2 separate regions of the Homo sapiens genome follow, and region 1 is linked to region 2. Evidence: promoter capture Hi-C in human tissues and cell types (Jung and others, 2019). All regions are on one chromosome and are shown on one strand. The core of a region is centred on a gene start or on the middle of the fragment in contact, and the rest is flanking DNA. Distances in the headings are between cores, read along the strand shown.

The links. The method cuts DNA at HindIII sites, captures the fragments that hold promoters and counts their contacts. A contact is called where the count stands out against the background at its distance.
Region 1: a fragment that was not itself captured here is called in contact with the fragment with the promoter of PLA2G4F in region 2 in 2 of the 25 tissues and cell types used here (IMR-90 fibroblasts and pancreas).

Annotation. Positions count from the first base shown.
Region 1 is chr15:41,993,982-42,001,360 of GRCh38, reverse strand. PLA2G4E (phospholipase A2 group IVE) reads left to right here. Exons shown (of 20, transcript NM_001395548.1): 7 at 141-204; 8 at 1,079-1,257; 9 at 1,361-1,444; 10 at 1,800-1,837; 11 at 4,102-4,237; 12 at 5,865-6,001. It overlaps PLA2G4E-AS1 (PLA2G4E antisense RNA 1), which reads right to left. Exons shown (of 4, transcript NR_120334.1): 4 at 2,267-4,222. Among named protein-coding and RNA genes, the nearest start is that of PLA2G4E, 23 kb to the left of the region's middle. The HindIII fragment of the contact is 8,280 bases long and covers 1-6,657 here.
Region 2 is chr15:42,153,967-42,161,298 of GRCh38, reverse strand. It overlaps PLA2G4F (phospholipase A2 group IVF), which reads left to right and starts at 4,663. Exons shown (of 20, transcript NM_213600.4): 1 at 4,663-4,860; 2 at 5,710-5,782; 3 at 6,841-6,977; 4 at 7,079-7,207. The coding sequence starts at 4,750. VPS39 (VPS39 subunit of HOPS complex) reads left to right here. Exons shown (of 25, transcript NM_015289.5): 25 at 470-2,598. The coding sequence ends at 545. RefSeq lists enhancers at 1,433-1,932, 4,223-4,938, 6,730-7,240. The HindIII fragment of the contact is 13,117 bases long and covers 1,753-7,332 here.

The DNA.
Region 1 (7,379 bases), core at 1,268-3,767, 160 kb after region 2:
ACACATTCTGCATTCCCCAGCATCAGCCCAGTCAGACCAATGCTGAATGTATCCTCTGGTCCCTCATCTCCCTTCAGCCTGGAAGAGCAAGGAGGTGGCTGGTGCTCAGACACTCTGTGACCCTCCTTTGTTTTTTACAGTCTCGACAAGTCTCCTGCCTGGAGGTTCATGCACAATCCAGGAGGCGGAGGAAGAGGGAGAAAAGTGAGCTGTTTTGCCTTTTCTGCCTACTGGGGGACAAGGGGGAGCTGCTTCCAAATCCCATCAGCATCAGACTCCACCTAGTCCAGGGCTTCCCTGGGCTCAGGGGGACCAAAAGCTCGGCTGAAACCCCTCAGAATCATCTCACCCCCAGGGGTCCTGAGCCCCTGGCCTCCCATCCTGCTCTGTAAAGGGCGTGTTCGCCCAAGCACCCACATAACCTTGGAGTATCTCAGGTCTGGGGTCCCAGTGCTGCTCCCTCTATCCACGCTTGTCTGTGCTGTGCCATGCCAGGACCTCAGATTGCCTAGGTCAGTGAGGTGGTCAGCACCCGAAGCCCAGGACCCCTCTAACTATGCCCCTTCCTCTAGGCAGACCACAGCTCACAGAGGGTCCTAGCACTTTATAGCTGGCAGAGACCTAAGAGATCCATGAATACCATACCCCTACCCTACTCCCCACCCCACCCCATGTTGCCCATGCAAGGCTACCAGACATGAGGGAGGGAGGGAGGACAGAAGAGGCGTCTACATCAAAAGCGACAGTGTGCGGAGGGTCTGCCTCCTCTACAGTGGGCAGGTTACTTTGGGGCATCTTCTGGCAAAGCTGAGCCAAGGACTGGTCCTGAGGACCTTCTCAGCATCTCAAAGGGTTTTCTGGGGACTATGTTTGTCTGCATCCTCATAAACCTCATTAAAATGCAGGTTCCTGGGCCCTGCCCTACCCTATAGATTGAGAATCTCTGGGGAATTTGAACTGGTGCCCCAGGTGATTCTAAACTCCTCCTGGATACCTCCAAATAGGTTTTTTGCTGGACCAAGTTGCAGGTGGGTAGTGAGAGGCTCCCAGGGTCTCACCCTCTTGTCCTCTCTCCCAGTGAAGGACCTCCTGGTGATGGTGAACGAATCCTTTGAGAACACCCAGCGTGTCCGGCCCTGCTTGGAACCCTGCTGCCCAACCTCTGCCTGCTTCCAAACCGCTGCCTGCTTCCACTACCCCAAGTACTTCCAGTCCCAGGTGCACGTGGAAGTGCCCAAGAGTCACTGGAGCTGTGGGGTACAAGGCGGCTGACACTGGGGGAGGTGTGGGGGACTGGGACAGGTGGGGGGTGCCAGAGGAGCTCCCCAGCCCCTCTCACAGAACCCACCCATCCCTCCAGCTTTGCTGCCGCTCTCGCAAGAAGGGCCCCATCAGCCAGCCCCTCGACTGCCTTTCCGATGGTCAGGTGATGACCCTGCCTGTGGTGAGTGCCTGAGTCTGGGAAGGGCCCCTGACTTACTTCCCCTGGAGCTCCTGTGGTAGGGAGGTGGGGAGAGCCTGGGGAGGTACAAGAGAGAATGTGACTCGTGAGGGTCTCTCTCAGGCAGGATGGAGGAGTCTTGTGGGGCAGGAGACTGATGAGCTACAGTGTGGTCCAAAGAGTGTATGGAGGCTGAGTTGAAGATGGTGGGGAGATTGTGTCCAGAAGAGAGAGGCAGGGATGGAGCGCCTGTGTGTGCACGTGTGTGCTGAGTGGGGTCTGGGTGGACAGTGTGGATCTGGGATCACTTGGCTCTGAATTGTCACCTCTGACAAGCTTTTCATCTTTCCCTCCCCAGGGTGAGAGTTATGAATTACACATGAAGTCTACACCCTGGTATAGTACCCGCATTCTGTCCGTGCCTCTCACTTATTCATAGCAGTGGGTGTGCAGTGGTATCTCACTGTGGTTTTGATTTGCATTTCCCCTATGGCTAATGATGTTGAACATCTTTCCATGGGCTGGCTGGCATATCATCTTCTTTGGAGACATTTCTATTAGATCCTTTGCCCACTTTTTATGTGGGTTATTTGTGTTTTTTTATTGTTAAGTTGTAAGAGTGCTTTACATATGCCAGATACAAATCCCTTGTCAGATATATGATTTGCAAATATTTCCTCTTATTCTATGGCGTATCTTTTCACATTCTTGTTGGTGTCCTTTGAAGCACAAAGGACTTTACTTTTGAGGAAATTTGTTTTTTTATCTTGTCACTTGTGCTTTTGGTGTCATATCTAAGAAACCAGAAATCATTGCCTAATCCAATGTCCTGAAATTTTTATTTTATTTTATTTTATTTTATTTTATTTTGAAATGGAGTCTCACTGTCGCCCAGGCTGGAGTGCAGTGGTGTGATCTCAGCTCACTGCAACCTCTGTCTCCTGGGTTAAGCGATTCTCCTGCCTCAGCCTCCCCAGTAGCTGGGATTACAGATGCACACCTCTACACCTGGCTAATTTTTGTATTTTCAGTAGAGACGGGGTTTCACCGTATTGGCCAGCTGGTCTCGAACTCCTGACCTCAAGTGATCCACCCTCCTCGGCTTCCCAAAGTGCTGGGATTACAAGCGTGCGCCACCGCGCCCGACCAAAGTCCTGAAAATATATTCCCATGTTTTTTTCTAAGACTTGTTTAGTTTTAGCTCTCACATTTAGGTCTATGATCAATTTTTAGGTAATCAATCTACATGGTGTAAAAGAGGGGCTCAACCTCGTTCTTTGGCATGTGGATATCCAGATGTCTCAGCACCATCTGCTGAAAACAACATCGTTTTCAGAAATCTTGATTGTCAGAAATCAAGTGGCCATGATTTCTATTGACAGTTTGATTAGCTATTTGCCCTTGGAAAAGCTCTTTGCCCTTACTGAGTCTCTGTTTTCCTCATCTGTACATTGGGAGAATAACAAGGATCCTGTGCATCACTGGGTTGCTCTGAGGATCCAGCTAGACAGCACGTGCGAAGTACTCAGTAATCCATCTGGCAAGTGGGATGCTCAGCAAACGTCAGCTAATGTTATTGTTATTATTGTTGTTGTATTATTATTATTCATTCCCTGTTGAGGCCAAAGAAAGAATTATTTTCTAACAGCCATGTCTGCAGCCCTGTGCTGGACAAAGAGGAGACATGATGGAAATCTCCTAGGCCCAGCCTTCAAGGAGATGTGGCTTTGTCAGTGAGCCAAGGCTCAGTTGGAAATGGTCAAGGTACATTCATCTGGAGTCACTGGGGAGCTGGGCCTCAGAGGATGCACAGGCTGGAGGTGGGCAAAGGGAAGACACTTCTGGTGAAGGCAGGGGCCTGTGCCAAGACCCGGAAACAGGACTGCTTCTGGGAGCTCTGGGACCTGACCCAGAAGTTTCGCGGGTAGTTTGAGGTGAGCTTGGAAAGATCAGGCAGGGTCTTGGATGCCAGGCCAGGAGCCTGGACTTGTTTGGGGCAGGGATGTGATTAAAAAAAAAAAAGAGGACAAGCATTGTGCATGTCACAGAGGTGCCTGCCCCACCTGCCTGCAGACTATGAGGTGACACAATGAGATCAGGAATGGGATGGTTTTTGTCAATTGCACACACACACAGAATAATTGTTATTCTAGGAGCAGGAAGAGCTCATTGAAGAACGTGAGCTCCATAGGAACAGGGAGTTTGTTTACCTAGCACAGAAGAGTCCATACCGTGGGGCCTTGTTCAGAGGGATTTGGCAAAATGATCTCAGCGCCTTTTGTCACCCATGCCTGGCCCTGGGCTAGAGAAGCCACCTGGGGGAAGACTTTCTGGACTTTCCAGATCTGGCCGAGGAGACAGAGGACTCAAAGCGTCCCTAACACAGTGCCAACAGTTATCTTTTGTTGAGTACCAGCTCGCATTGTGCCAGCTAAGGCTTTGGGGGCTTTGCATTTGTTATCTCTTTAAGTGCTGAAGACAGTGCTGAGAGTTCAGCACGATTCGCCCCACTTTACAGATGGGAAAGTGGAGACCCAAGGTCACAGAAGTGGTCGCTGGCAGAAGTAGGCTTTGAGCCTAGGTCCAATGGACCCTGAAGCTGTGTCTACTCCAGGGAGGTAGAGGCTGCAGGCCCAATACAGGGTCCTCTCTCCCTCCAGCCCTGAGACACTGGACGTGCGGCTGGGCTTCAGCCTGTGCCCAGCAGAGCTGGAGTTTCTGCAGAAGCGGAAGGTCGTGGTGGCCAAGGCCCTGAAGCAGGTGCTGCAGCTGGAGGAAGACCTGCAGGAGGACGAGGTGGGTAATCAGGGATGTGGCCAGCCTGGGCCCAGCTGGTCCTTCCAGCACCATGCCCTCCCAGCCAACCCAGGCCCTGCCCTACCCCAGGCGCCACCTCCATGGATGCTTTTACTGCTGAGGTACAGGCGCCCTGGTGAGAGCTGTGCTGGAAGTGATTCTGTTTTATATTCACAAGAGAAGGGGAGAGCAAAATGGAGACAGAAAGGACAGAGCCCCAGCGCCTCCTCCCAAGCACTAAGAGTTCCTGCTGTGGCTAAAGGGGCCTTACTCAGGGATAAAATGCCCTCCTCACCCCAGCCAGGAAAACATTTTAAGCTGTACCACCTTCTGCACCCCACACCTCCACCCAAAAGGCCTTAGGTCCTTCTTTCCTCAATTGTCTCTCCTCTCAAATCCGCACAGGTAAACACACTCCCAGAAATAACAGCGCTAGGAAGCTGGAGAGAAGCAACTTGCACTCCTAGGGCCAGACCGCCCCTTCTTCCCACGGGAGCAGACGGTGGGCCTCTGTCACAGCCCTCTGTTGCCTCCCTTGTGTGGACCAAGGCCCACACTCGCCTGGGCAGCAGGCAAGCCCTCCAAGCGCCTGCTTTCTGAGGCTGACCCTAGGTGAGGACAGAGACCTGGCGGGTGCCCGAGGAGGACTTGTAATAGCGCTTTAGCCAATGGAAGGTTCTTACAGCCCCCACTCAAAGGAAAACAGACAGAATGAGTCTTGACAAAGAGCCCCTTCCTCCCTCCTTTTTTTTTTTTTTTTTTTTTTTTTTTTTCTTGAGACAGGGTCTTGCTCTGTCACCCAGGCTGGAGTGCAGTGGCACCATCACAGCTCACTGCAGCCTCCACCTCCCAGGCTCAAGCAATCCTCTTACTTCAGCCTCCCAAGTAGCTGGGACTCCAGGAATGAGCCACAATGCCTGGCTAATTTTTGTATTTTTTTGTAGAGATGGGGTTTCTACATGTTGCCCAGGCTGGTCTTGAACTCCTGGGCTTAAGCAATCTGCCCACCTCGGCCCCCCAAAGTGCTGGGATTACAAGTGTGAGCCATTGTACCTGGCCCTATCTTTAGGGAAACATTCCAGGGGCCTCTTAAACCTCTGCTGACCCAGAGCTGGCAACCCTGCTCCTTCCCACATCACCAGTCCATTGACTCTTGGCCTTGCCAGTACAGTACCTGCTGAGCAGGCACCATGTGCCAGGCCTGGTGCCTTCCCTCAGATCCAGCTACAGAAGATGTTGGTTTGTCCCATTGAGGGATCGCACATTAGTAGGGTTCTTGAACAAGCTGCCCACCACCCTCGGACCCCAGTTTTATCACCTGTTAACCGAGGGCTAGACTAACAGTGCTAAGAACTCTGCTAGCCACAGCTTTCTGTGATTTACCAAGCCTGTGTTAGGCTTCAGAGTCCTTCACTGACACCAACTTCTGGGTGTGGAGCTGAGGTCTATTTCTAGACCCACTGCTCTGTGGAAAGGCAGGTGTCAGGTGGCTCAACGCCGCACTCCCTGCCCTCTGTAGCCAGCTCTGCCTCCTCCATTGTTCTTTCAAAGTTGCCGTCATTCTAAGTCTTCTCCCAAGCTTTGCTTCTGGAGCCTTCCCCAACCGCCTGCCTCTGTGTAACCCCAGGTGCCGCTGATAGCCATCATGGCCACTGGGGGTGGAACAAGATCCATGACCTCCATGTATGGCCACCTGCTGGGGCTGCAGAAGCTGAACCTCCTGGACTGTGCCAGCTACATCACCGGTCTATCAGGGGCCACCTGGTAAGGAGACATGAGCCACTGTCTGTGGAGCCCAGGGCAAGCCACGAACAGGCTGGCCTGGGGTCTCAGGTGAAGCTCCTCCCCGCCACCCAAAGACAAAGTGACTCCTGAAGCCTGGGAAGTGCCCCACATGCAGTGGTGTGGCCTTGGGCATGCAGCTTGACTCCTTGGAGGCTCGGCTTGTGTATCTGCACAGTGCGGATAACAGTAGCTCTGACCTCATGCGGTGGGTGTAAGACGCTCTCCCGCTACTAAGTATGCCAGAGACACTGTATGCCCTGGCCTTTCCTGGTGTTACTGTTTCCCTGGGGCTGTGGTATGGACCCAGGAACATGACCCCATACTGCTGGGGACATGCAACGGGCAGGGCCCTGCAGCTGAGCTCCCTCCTTCTCACCCTCTGCTGGTGAGCAGGGCCAGGGGCTGAGCACTGGGTTCCCCCACAGGGAGGCCAGGGTGAGGTCAGCTTACCCACAGAAGGCACAGTGCCTGCGGCTCACTGTACTTTTAGGGGCCCACAAAAATAGGTTAATTTCTTTTAAAATCAGGATCATTTCATTAACAAACTTATAGGTTGAAGAAAATGTTTTAATAAATAATATGAATACATTTGTCTTTATACAACAGTCATGAAATATAAATTTTAATATTTTTTATGTGGCCAGCATGAAATATAAATTTTAATATTTTTTATGTGGCCAGGTATGGTGGCTCACATCTGTAATCCCAGCACTTTGGGAGGCAGAGGCAGAAGGCTTGCTTGAGGCCAGGAGCTCAAGACCAGGCTGGGCCACATAGGGAGGACTTGTCTTTAAAAAAAACAAAAATAAAAAACATATAAACATTTTTTGTGGGGCCCATCAAAACCCTGCGTGGCCCTGGTTCAGGGTGGCCTATCAAGCAGGGCCGTGTCCTGTCTGTGACTGGTGGGCCTGTGAGCCCTGAGGTCCCTTGCTGTGCCTTGTATACTGGAGGAGCTCTGGGTAGCCCCCGTGTGAGCAAATGGATGTGAATGGGCCTTGGAAAGCCAAGGGCTCCTGTGCCACACACCCCCCCGGGGGGCAGAGGCGCCAGCCCAGGTGAGACAGAAGGAGACATTTGCCTCTTGCTAAGCACTGGAGTCACTGCTTCCTATGGCTCATCTTGTTTCTTCCTCACAAAAAACTATGAGAGAGGCATTGTCATTATTTTTCAGCTGGAGAAACAGAGTAATTTGCCAGGGACACTCAGTTAATGAGCAGTGGAGTAGAATTTGAACCTAGTCCCGGGCCCACATCCTTAACCTCCATGCTAAATGGCTGCCCCCGGTAGTAGGTTAAGAAGGTAACTTGCTTCCAGCAGGTTGAGGGGCACCTGCGTCCTCCCGGACTACTATGCG
Region 2 (7,332 bases), core at 3,414-5,913:
AGACTCATACTGTGTTAAGACATATACTCTAGTTAGTCCCCTTTTCTTCAAAGGAGAGTGATTTGTCTCTTATGTAGCTGGAAAAATATTTTTCTTTAGAAAGACAAACTCGCCGTCCTTTTCAGAATTAGCCTGAAACCTGTTCTGATGAACATTGTTGGCTCTCAGGAAGCCAGGGCTGAGCTTTGGGCTGGTGCACTGCCCATCTTTAATATGCCTTGTGTTTTGCATAATAAAAAAATACCCCATGCACTCTTAACTGTGTGCACCTCATCCTCTGTTTGGTTATTTGACAGAGATGATGGCTACAGAAATCCAGAGCCCCTCAGGCAGGCTGTTCTTTGAGGTTTGGGTGGGCTGCTTTTGGAATGGCCCCCCAGCAATGTGCCTCTTCTGTAGGAGGTGCCGCTGCCAGAGAAGTGGTCACTTAGAAGCAGTCCTCACTCCCAAGCCATTTTCTTCCCTGCAGTGCATTTGCAAGATACCCCAATGGAGTGGTCGTCCATTACTTCTGTTCCAAAGAGGTAAACCCAGCTGACACTTGAGCCCAGCATCCTGGGGATCCAGCGGATGGACAGCTTGGCTCTCCCAGAGAGGTGAAGGAGCACCTGGCCTTAGGAATCCTGGCTGCCACCACCACAAGGCTCCCCATTTGGACATTACTGGCTATCTTGTGCCCTGGAACAACTCTGAATTAATTAGACTCATGGTCTGGCATTGCCAGCTTTTTAATGGGAAAAGAGATTAGTTATACCTTATACCATTATGTTGTGGGCAATTCCAGAGAATTCAGTACCTGCTTGGTCAGGAGGATGTGCACCATCTTGCCTTTGCACACCAGTCACCTGAACAAGGAAACTTGTCACAAGTGTTTGTAACCATGGGGTTGTTCATCAAGGGCTTTTCTATTAAGTACATGACTTCACAAGGACCGCTCAGCATGGCTCACTGGAGAGTTCCATGAGAGAACAGCACTCAAGCTTCTGGCCGCATGGACCCGATGGCTCGCATTCTGTGTAGTGTTTTACGTCTCCATGGTAACTGTGCCCTGCACCCCTCGGTAGCCGCCCTGTTAGTTTTCAGTCTCCTTTTCTTTCTCACCATTTATCACTTCCCTCACTGCCCTACCCAGGCTTTCTCTCCCACTTCCCTGACTCTGGGAATAACTAATATTTAAGCAAGGTAAGATGAGAAGCAAGGGGTCTCAGTTCTAGGAATACAGTGCTAGTTGATTGTCAGGTATGTTGTAAATAGACCCTCTTTGGCCATACACTCCATGCCTAGATGCCTCGGAGAGCATCATTCTCTGCCTAGGCAAGGCCCTGCATCCCTTGCCTCAGGCCGGGCTGAGTGTGACTGCAGCTCCTGAGGATGGGCCTGCCCTGTCTGGGGTATGCGTGATCCCTAGATACATGTTCCCACAGAGGTGCCTGCTCCGTCTTCGCTCACCAGACACTCAGGCAGGCTGGCTTAGTCTTTGTGCGTGGCGATTTTGTGCTCTGGGCCCTTTCTCTTTTTCCAGCCAGTTTCCATTCACTTGCCTTACAGCCTGCCCTGGCCGTCACTCCCCAGCTTTGTTCAGCAATGGTGTGGTTGGAGAGTTGTGCTGGGATAGCGCAGGAAGGTGGGTCCCGGCAACACGCAGGGGATGAGTGGACCTGGAACTGACAATGGCGTGCTGCCAAGTGTTCCTGAGAGGTGTTTAGGCACAGCAGAGGGGACGCGGGGGGCAAGAACAGCAGGACGCTGGTTTAAAAATAACTCACCGCCAAACCTGTGGAGCAGTGTGGGGCATCCTGCCAGAGGTGCACAGGCTGGAGTTTCAGGCACTGCAGGCTGATGACACACAGGGAGAGTGGCCCTGCCTCCTGTCCTCCCCGGGGTTTTTGCAGACTCGAAGTCTCACTGCACCAGTGTCTTTGATGGTGGTGAGGGTGGGTGATGGTGCCCAGCACCAACAGTTTTAGTGGCCTGTCCTTGACCTGCCGTGGTCCTTTGTAAACTATGGCTCCATGCTGTGTGACAGATCAACGTGCTGATGGTAAGTAGACTAGGCTTCCCCAGGCATGCCGTCCGTGGGGGCCTGAAGAGACAGTGAGTGCCATTGGCCCCATTCGCAGATGTGGGAGACTCTGCTCAGGCCTGTGAGGCTGGGCAGCCCTTCACCAGAGTTCGGAGGAGCAGTGTGTGGCGCCACGTCCCGACTGGCCATACCCACACAGAAGCAGTGCTGCCCGGGGCCTCATCTGGGCCAGCTTGGACTCTGCTTCCTCCAGGAGCAGCAGGGAAGCTCTGGGCCACCTCCCTGGATAGCAGGAACTTGACCTGCCATGTGTGCCCTGCCTTCCTGGCCAGCTGTGCTTGTTATCTTCCATTCTCACAAACTGTCTTTGAAGCAATAGAATAAAGAATGTGTGTTTTCTTTCCTGGTATACATACATGATCCCATGCTCCCAAGCTCCATTCTTCCTTCCCTCAACTCTCTGCCCTCCACAGAGCTATGGAGAAGGCTGGAGATGAAAGCTTTGTAGTGAGGACTGATAAAGATCTCATCACTGCTCCTTATAATAAACCTAATAAAGCAAGAAACCAAGCCTATCTGGGTCTCTTATTTCTCCCTCCCGTGGAGTTTGATGAAAATAACAATGAAAAGATAGTAGTTTAGCAAAGAACTTAGAAGAATAAGCCAATTAGTGACCAAGAAAAAATGAATATAATACTTGCATTACAAATGCCACGTGGTACAGCCAGTGTGGTCATGGCTGATGAGTCAGCAGCACAGATACGGAACACATCCATCATTACAGAATTCTGCGGGACACACTGGCGTCTGGGAGATCCAAGTGTTTTCCCCCATCATGTAGTAGCACCTGGTGCCTCTTCCTGCAGCCCATGATGAAGGAATTGGGATGGAGGGACGCAGAGGTGTTTGGGAAGTGGAGAAGTGTTGGTTCACTTTGGCCAACTCCAAAGAGAAAATGTAGTCCTTGTTGTCTCTGTCCCATCTGGCACTAGGGGCAATGACTTTATTGTGCAGTGGGGCCGATGACTTCCAGAAGAGGATGGTACAGCCAGAAAGACACATCAGTCAGGAGCTAGAGCCCCAGCCTGGTTCTGCCCCCAGCTAGCTCTGTGCCCTCTCCTCTTGTATGGATCCGCAGGTCCCCTGCATACATTCACAGCTATCACCAACTGCCAGACTCTCATTTCTTAGAGCCCAGGCCAAGTCTTGGCTTCACAATCCAAATAAAGCAGAAACAGGCCCTTCTTTGGGGCCTGGTCACTGGCAGTCACACATTCCTTTTTTGGGGGGAGTTTCTGGTCTGAACTTGCCCATTCGGTTCATTTTGGAGTTGAATCACATCTTTTTTGGATGTTGTATTTTTCAGCCTGTGACTCTAGGCCTTGGGAAGAGTGGAGATGACTGAATCTTAGTTGAGGGACAGAAATTCTCTCCCTCCCACAGTTCACGGCCCCCGAGATCCTCACTCTTCCTGGAGACTGTGCCTGTCTCAGCCACCTTGATGGTTGTGGTCCACAGAAGAGCGAACATCACATCCATCTGCAGCCTAAGGCCTACGATGGCCAAAGAGAATGCTAAAGCCTGTATATCTGGTCGCTGAAGGATACGTAGACTTGTTGTTTGGCCTGTCCTTATTTATAACCCCCTGCCCATATGCCTGTCTGTACCTGGACACTGTACACTGACCCAGGAAGCGAGCCTGGGCCAAAGCCACAGGGAGTCATGAGACTGAATTTCTCCAGGATGTGGATGGGCCCGCCTCACCTCTGTCACCTTTGCGTTTCTGGGCCTAGCACAGGTCTGGCACCCACCAGGCTCTTGGTGTTTGGCGAATTAATGAGGGTGGTCAGGAGAGATTAAAAACATCTTTGATGAGTTCATGTCCTTTGTAGGGACATGGATGAAGCTGGAAACCATCATTCTGAGCAAACTATCGCAAGGACAGAAAACCAAACACCACATGTTCTCACTCATAGGTGGGAATTGAACAATGAGAACACTTAGACACAGGGCGGGGAACATCACACACCGGGGCATGTCGGGGGGCAGGGGGCATGGGGGAGGGATAGCATTAGGAGAAATACCTAATGTAAATGACGAGTTAATGGGTGCAGCACACCAATATGGCACATGTATACACATGTAACAAACCTGCACGTTGTGCACATGTACCGTAGAACTTAAAGTATAATTAGAAAATATATATAAAGAGAGAAACATCTTTGATCCCAGATGAAACACTGAAGCAGAGATTTCTAGGCTTCAGCTTAAGAGCCGCAGGGAAGGTGGGACTTGAAGGGTGGCTAGTTTCAGGCCTTTTCCACAGCTGGAGGAGACTCTTCCCTGATTTGCACTTGCCAGCTGGTCTCTGGGCCAGCTGTGCCAGCTTCACCTAGAGGTCTTGTTGGAAATAGCTCCGGTGTCTATTTTTCACAAACAGCCCAGTGATAACCAGGGCGCTGGGTTTGGGAACAAGAGTGCTAACCAGAGACCCCAAGAGTCTCTTGGAGAGGGACTGAGCTGCCTCCTGCCTGGGGAAATTAAGCTCCAGTCACTTCCTGGAGCATGTCAAACTCCACCTCCAGCAGGCCATCCAGCCTGAGTTCTCTGCAGAGCAGGCAGCTCCACCCTCCCAACTCAGTGCTGCCTGTCACACCTGAGCCAGCAGTTTGTGCAACCAGAGGAGCGCAGGCAGGGTTCCCTGCTGGGGCCCGGGCTGCCCAGCCATGCTTTGGGCACTCTGGCCAAGGTGGCTGGCAGACAAGATGCTGCCCCTCCTGGGGGCAGTGCTGCTTCAGAAGAGAGAGAAGAGGGGCCCTCTGTGGAGGCACTGGCGGGTAACGTACCTGAGATTACCTGGGAAACCCGGACTGGGGGAGTCCTGGGAGCTGCAGTGCCCTGTGAAGACTGAGACCAGCCCCAGCCCTGGGTTTTGAGTTGGGGTGGGACCTGTTTATTCTAGATGACCTGGCAGAGCTTAAATTAGACCTTGGCTCTTAAAAATAGCTCCCTCCGATTAGGAAATGGAGGGTTAGTTCACTTGACACTTGTCTGGGGTGGGTTGGCTTTCACCAAGGATGCGCGAGCCTGGCTGTAGAGTCCACGGAGCTGGTGGGGTTGTGAGGGGAGAGTTTCCCTCCCAGTAGGCAGCATGCTGATGTTATCTCTCCTAAGCCCAGCTGCAATCTGCTCGGTGACTCGTCAGACCGGTACCGGCCGGCCGGTGACTCTCGGCTTCCGCTCACCTGCTCGCTGCCTCCTAGACGGTCTTTGAGCCTCTGTCAGGGAGCAAGCAAGGGAGGGGGTGTCACAGTTTTCTCTTTTAATATTTAATCTTCTCAAGCACAACATTAGCACAGCTCTCACAGCTGCTCCCAAGCTAGAGTGGGGGCGCGAGCGTCTGAGGGGAGCTGCAGGTGTGTGGTGCGTGACAGCCATCGTTAGTTCAGTGAGTCCGTGCTGGATTTAGATTTGAACCCAGACCGGATGGGTTCCAGGGTCCAGACACATCACGAAGGTGCTGAACTCCCAATGCCTGGGACCCGCCAAGGTCTCCCTGCTCCCCGGCACAGAGACGTCAGTGACCCTATGCCAGGTTGCTGCTCCATGATGGGACGAGGGGAACAATGGGGCGAGGGACCAGGCTCACACTAGCTGACTGAGTCCCTGGAGTTCTGTTATTGCAGCGGGAAACCTACCCATACTATGACCTCCAGGTGAAGGTGCTGAGGGCCACAAACATCCGGGGCACAGACCTGCGTGAGTGACCCCATCTCCATCCTTCTCTCTGTCCTTTCCCTGCGGCTTCCTCAGAGCTCAGCTCAGGCTGGCTAACAGAGAGTGTGTGTGTGTAAGAGTATACATGGGTGAGTACAAGTGAGAGTGCATGTGTGTATACATGTGTGAGTATACGTGTAGGCATCTGTGCAAGTATGTGTGAGTGCAAGTGTGAGTACATGTGTATACGTGTGTGTGAGTGCGTGTATATGTGGTGTAAACATGTGAGTGCGAGTGTGTGGGAACACGAGTGTGTATATACATGCGTGCAAGTGTGAGCGAGTGTGTGAGTGCAAATGTGACTGCGAGTGTGTATACACATGTAGGAGTGTGTGAGTGCAAGTGTGAGTGGAAGTGTATATATGTGAGTGCGAGTGTGTGTGAACGTGAGTGTGTATGTGTGTATACGTGTGTGCGTGTTGTGTATGTGTGTCTGTATACATGACAGTGAGTGCCAGTGTGTGTGACTGAGTACGAGTGTGTGTATATACGTGTGTGTGTGCCAGTGTGAGAGTACTACACATGTGTGCGTGCATGAGTGCAAGAGTGTGTGTGTGAGTGCAAGAGTAGGTGGAGGGACTGGTGCTGACCATGGAGGTGAGGGCAGGCAGGGCTGGAGGGGACAGCTGTGCAGACTCGGCCTCCTCCCTGTGCCTGGGAGTGCCGCCCTGGGTGACAGTGTGAGGCCCGCTGTGGCTACAAGTCAGCACGCGCTCTCAGGGAGCTTTCCATGCCAGTGCCCACACAGGGAGGGGATTTTACTGCCTGAATCAGGCAGTAGCTGGAATTAATGGTCTGTGCTGCCATGGGATCTTTCCAACTGGCTGCCGCAGGATTTCTGTTCAGGTGAATGGGAGGTGTGTGGAATCAAGATGGAGTGAAAGACATCAAGGCTCTCCCTCCACCTCCTCACCCCACCATGCCACGTGGGCGGCTTCCCCTCCCCACTCTGCTCCTTCCCCTTCTGCCCTAGCCTCCCCAAGGAAACCTTTTCAGCAATGAGAGCTTGAGGCCCCGGCCCCTCCCTGTCCTACCTGCAGTGTCCAAAGCCGACTGCTATGTGCAACTGTGGCTGCCCACGGCGTCCCCAAGCCCTGCCCAGACTAGGATAGTGGCCAACTGCAGTGACCCCGAGTGGAATGAGACCTTCCACTACCAGATCCATGGTGCTGTGAAGGTGAGGGCCAGCCAGGGGCCAGGCTGCGGGAGGGGAACTCCTCAGGCAGCTACCCTCCTGTCCTACCTCATGCTCGGACCTCCTGCCTGCCTTGTCCCCAGAACGTCCTGGAGCTCACCCTCTATGACAAGGACATCCTGGGCAGCGACCAGCTCTCTCTGCTCCTGTTTGACCTGAGAAGCCTCAAGTGTGGCCAACCTCACAAACACACCTTCCCACTCAACCACCAGGTGAGCCCACCAGTGCTGGCGGAGAGCCCAGCTGGAGGAGGGGAGGCCCAGCACAGGGCCACCAAAGAGGGGGCTCTGGTCGGCACAGGCCAAGCCTCCAAGGCAGACCTTCCTCCACCCCGCAG